Regions from separate parts of the Homo sapiens genome. Here region 1 is linked to region 2. Evidence: promoter capture Hi-C in human tissues and cell types (Jung and others, 2019). All regions are on one chromosome and are shown on one strand. The core of a region is centred on a gene start or on the middle of the fragment in contact, and the rest is flanking DNA. Distances in the headings are between cores, read along the strand shown.

The links. The method cuts DNA at HindIII sites, captures the fragments that hold promoters and counts their contacts. A contact is called where the count stands out against the background at its distance.
Region 1: a fragment that was not itself captured here is called in contact with the fragment with the promoter of HCRTR2 in region 2 in 2 of the 25 tissues and cell types used here (IMR-90 fibroblasts and lymphoblastoid cells).

What each region holds. Positions count from the first base shown.
Region 1 is chr6:54,069,690-54,072,389 of GRCh38, reverse strand. It overlaps a transcript of MLIP not described here. Among named protein-coding and RNA genes, the nearest start is that of MLIP-AS1, 23 kb to the right of the region's middle. The HindIII fragment of the contact is 4,337 bases long and covers 1-2,700 here.
Region 2 is chr6:55,173,159-55,175,858 of GRCh38, reverse strand. HCRTR2 (hypocretin receptor 2) reads right to left here and starts at 1,344. Exons shown (of 7, transcript NM_001384272.1): 1 at 1,049-1,344. The coding sequence starts at 1,271. The HindIII fragment of the contact is 12,053 bases long and covers 1-2,700 here.

The sequences.
Region 1 (2,700 bases), core at 181-2,680, 1.1 Mb after region 2:
GAAAGAGTTAATGATTGCAAACCATCAAGTGAGGAGATGGAAGGAGATCCTCAAATCTATCTCCTCTGGGGATAGAGAAGTTCTAGGGTGGGTTTTTAAAAGGTTTCTTGAGCATGAGGGGCTGGAAAATTGGGGTCATTGATTGGTCAGGGAAAGGGTGATGAAATCATCAGGATGTGAAAACTGCATTTTTTTGGTGAGTCAGTTCCTCATGGGGTCCTTCAGACCAGCTGAGTCAGTGGGGTCTTTTAAATCAGCTGGTATCAGTGGGGGGTCACTGGAATCAGCTGGCGTTAGTAGTTTCATCAGTATGCAAGACCTTTTCGCCACTAAAGCCTATTGCTCTGGTAAACATCAGGATGATCCGTTTCTCTGAAATGATCAAAGGGAAAACTTAATGTTTTATAATGTTCAAGCTGTTATCTGTGGAACAGTTAAGGGGAACTGTAATTCTGTAATAGGGTCTACATGATTGTGAGGCAATAGGCACCAAAGAACTACGAAGAAGCAGGTCAGAGAGCAAGCTGACTTCATGGCTAATGTTTCATGTGCAGTAGGCTTGGTTTATTTTCATTTCTCTCTCTTTTTTCCTGATAGATTTTATGAATTTTATAGGAGCAGTTCCAAAATTACAAGACATAGCTCATGAAGTAAGATTTTTTAAAAACAAACATATTCATATGAATATTACCGCCAAAGATGTTACCAGGGACAATCTATATGTTTACTTAATGTTTCTGCTATCCCTCAAAATATTTTTGAAACTTCTTTGAATTAACTTTAAAAGTCATTTATATTTTTAAGAAAATTGGTTCCATTGCCTTAAATTTATACCTTTAAAAAAAATCCTAAACAGGTTAACTCATTATTACTTTTAGCTCTTTCTAAAACTAAAATCCACTATTGAAAAACAATGATTTATCATATGTCTCAAGAGACTTAAAAGATTAGGACTCCAGCTATAAAAAAATAGAGAAATAATTATTCTTTAGGAAGTTTTTGAAATTAGCAATACTATGCAATATGAATATAGCCTATGAAGATAACTTTGTTTTTTTTTCTTTTTGAAGATAACTTTGATAGAAACAGCATTCATGCATATTAAAGTTTGTCATGTTCATTAAAATATATACCATTGTTACAGCAAAGCAGATGCATGCAAAGCAGATGCATCCTCATAATAGAAGACCATACAGTAGTTGATATTTTATTATTATAAATTTATTATTTTTATGTAAACCATTTCTCTCCTCCTGAAGATCTTTTTAAAAATGCAAATACCTATGAGAGAATCAATACATTAAGTCACCTACATTATATAGACGTGGGTCTTAACTCTATCTAAAGTATTCATCTTAGTTCTGTCTAAGGGGTCTATGAATAGCATTCAATGGGTCCATGATGGGAAATATATTATGTTTTGTTTTTATTAATCTCTAACTGGAATTTAACATTTCCTTCAATTATGAATATAATCAATCAACCAGTGTAGAATTAGGCACTATCTGTGACATTGATACCTATAAAAATCATAGATATTTTACATTACAAGTGTTGCATATATAGCAAAATATCACTTGTTCTCATTACTACTTTGAAATTATAATAGTTCTTAGAACTATTTCTGAATCTTGTACTATGCACATAAAAAAACAATATGCTAAAAAGAAGACCATAGGCCCCTCAAACTGCAAAAAGAGTGCATGACTCAAAAAAGATAAAGAATCCTTGCCTTATATAATGAGTTAACTTATAATGTTTATTTTCTCTTTGACCTGGGCAACCAAAAAAAATCCCAGGATACCAATTTACCTGTGAAAAAGTTTCCACAAGGTTGGAAGGCAAATTTTGCATGTAATAAATTTGACATGCCTTGCCTTTTCCAGAAACAAAAGCAGAGACGTGGTTCTAGAGGCACATTACATTAGCTATCAGCTTGGAAATCATTGACTGCATATACTAGCATGTTTTTGTGGCTAAAATGTAAGCAGAGAATCCATGCTTAAAGCACTGGATTCTTACCAATCCATTATCTGGGACATTAAACATGGGGGGGAGGTGGGGAAATAAAAATACAAAAAAATCTAACATCATATCAAACTGTGCTAGATCATCCCGATTCTAAGGCTCTTTGAAAATTGAAGGAGAATAACAAAAATGATGAGTGAGGCAGACAGGCTTACGGGGTAAGCTGGACAGCTGTCACAGTGAACAGTAAAGCAGTCGTGCATGGGTATCAGCAATGGCCCACATTTAACACTTAACACAACAGAGAGCAAACAATTATTTGTTGTGCTTTACCCCTAAAAGTAACAGAGAAGGGGAAAAATGGAAGAAAGTGAGAAACTATACAGCAGACACACTGTGACAAAAATTTTAAAACCCTTAGCAAAAAAGATTGTTAAGTGAGCCAAAAGGAATCACTTTTGAACTTAACCACTCCATATTTTTCCAGGTTGTTTTCACTGTAACTTTACAAAGAATTAGGTTGACAAAACTTTATAGTATCAAAGAGAAATAGGAAATAGTTTAAGCTTGTCTTGTGGTTCAGTCTATTATGCTCAAATTAAAAATACAGTTGATTTGAGTCTTTTTTAAAGAAAAAATTTTTTCTTAAATTTTTGTGTGAAGTTGGCCCTCCATATAGACGAGTTCTGCATCCCTGGATTCAACAAACTACAGATCAAAAATATTCAGAAA
Region 2 (2,700 bases), core at 95-2,594:
TCATTCATCAAGGTACACTCTCCTTCCATTCACAATTTATTTCAAGTTATCCCTCCCTTCCAAAGCCCCTTTTCTGGAGGTATATTCCCCAACTGCCCTAATACATTCCATCATCGCACTCACCATGTTGCCATCTCACCCCCTCCCCAACCCTCAGAAATTGTTTAGGGGGAGGGGGATGAGGGGTCGAGGAAACCCGTGTTTGCATACAGACCTAGACCGGGACAAATAGCCTAGCATTAAGCTTAGTCTCATCTTTGGAGAAAACAAAACAAAACAAAACAACAACAAACAGTTGACATGAATAATTCCTGAGCCTGGCAACAAGCAGACTGAAAAAAAAAAATATTTGGCTGAATGGATGTAAGAATGAATGGATGGATGGATGATTGAGATCTCTGTGGTACTTTTCTCCGATGCCCCTCCTTCTTGCTCCAGGCATGGATCCTGTTTAATTCAGCTTCTATGAGTGAGTGCACTTCCCTGCTTTGCCTCCGTCTCCACTCCCTGCTGGTTCATTACCACCTCTTGACTGGAGACTAAACCTCCTCGCCAAAGGGCAATGCCACCTAGCTCACAAATGCTTTGTGACTTCCACAGCCACAGAGAGCTTGCTCCTTAGGGATGTAGCTTTGTATTCTGCAAGCTCTGTCTCGTCCCAACCCCCCTGAAACACCCAGCCACGTTACACAAAGGGATGACTGACTCCCCCACCTACCCACCCACACACACACACACTCAACAAAATCCACCTGGAGATCCCTGCCGCGGCCCCTCTCCCTGCGCTTGTAATCTAGGTGCTCGAAAAAGAAACGCGGTTTCCCCGTTATTCCTGCAAAACAGGGAATAACCTTTCCAGGGCTCGGTCCCGGTTCGGAAAATCAGAAAACTTTCTATTATTATTATTATTTTATTAGAAAACCCCATCCGAGAGCAGCGACCTCTTTGTTTGCTTCCCGGGGGAGGGAGGGGTCTCTTTAGAGCCTTCTCAGCCCGGGGCGGAGAGGGGGTGATAGCCCCTAGGAGGGCTGCCCGGGAGGAGACTCACCCAGGACGTTCCCAATGAGAGCCACGACGAACACGATGATGTACCCGGCGATCAGGACCCACTCATATTCTTTCGGGTGCAGGTATTCCCTCCACAGGTACCGCAGGAATTCCTCGTCGTCATAGTCGGTGGGGTTTAAAAAGGGCTCTTGAGTTTCATTCAGCTCCGAAGCAGATGACCAGTTGCGACAAGGGGGGGAGTCCTCCAATTTGGTGCCGGACATCACGGGCTCAAGTCCGGTTCCGCTCAATGCTGCAAGCTCCTCTCCGCCTGCCCCATGAGCACTGGTGATTTGCGGTGGGAAAGGCTGCGCGGAGAGGCTAGAAGGGGCTCCCGAGCAGAAAATGACGTGAAAAGTTACTGAGCCAATGCCTCCGGAGTCTTCTGCCGGGCAACTTCTGCGGTGGCTTTGCTGTCTTTACAGGCGATGTTGCACCGGGAAGATAGGCAGCTGAGGAACTAGGGACCCGGCACTGGAGGCTGCAGCAATGACACCAGGAGGAGAAAGCTACGTCCGGCTCAGCTGAAGCTCAATTACTCCTCATTCCAGCACTCAGTCCGCAGCCCACAGCCTCCTCCCTCGCTGAGGGAGAGCTGAAGCTGAAGAAAAAAAAAAAAGTAATGAAAACTAATTTAATCTGTTTTTTTGGGGGGTGGGGGGTGAGAGTTAAATCTCTCTCTTTTTCTACTTATTTTCTCTATTTTTACGTGCACTTATTATAAACCATGCACAGACATGCATCAGTCTGTGGATATGACAAAAATGTCAACATACAATTAATACAGAGCATGTTGATACATTTGTCTTTGTAAAGCAAATATAAAAGCAATAAGGAGGTGCCTCTGTGTTTCTCAAGCAGGACAATGGAAAAGTCATTCCAGGCAAACACTTTAACATTTAATATAAACTTATTTTAACATTTGACATTTGCCAACTTAGTACTTGCCGAGTCTTTAAGACATCTCCGTCTTCACTTTCTCCTTAAAATTTGAGAATGAGACTGTTTTTAAACTGAAGGGTCTATTTAGCTGGAATTTGTATTTGCGATAGTTAAGTGTCATGTGAAATAGAGCTACAAATTCTTGAAGGACGCCAAGTGTCATAAATATGATCATAGTTAATGTTGTCAAGCATGACAGACCACCAATATACTCAATGATATTAAACATTCACTGTAGGATGTAGCAATCTAAGCAGAAGTGCTCTCTCTGGTAAATACCACATCCCATTGGGTCTTTCTTCCCATTGATTCAGGGCTGATGTCACCTGCCATTCTCTCATGCACTGGTTTTGTCTCTAATAATAAGTATTCTAGCATTTGTCAGAATGTGAATTCATGATCCTTTTATTCTTAATAAACATGGTAAAAATATTGCATTTAAGTAATTACAATCTTGCACTTGGGAAGAGCCTGGAAATCTTGTCTGAACTTCAGCTTCAGAGTAGAAGCCTCCTGATAACATTGCTGACATGTCCCCATCTAGCTTGAATGTGACCACCACAATTCACTACTTCCATCCTTATGGGAGTGCTCTAAGGGTGAGAAAACTGTTTCTTACATTAAACCAAGGTCTCAAGCCACGATTTGTCTTTTTGAGACTTTTACCTCTAATTCCTAGTTTGCATCTTGGTGCTACACAGAATAAATCTT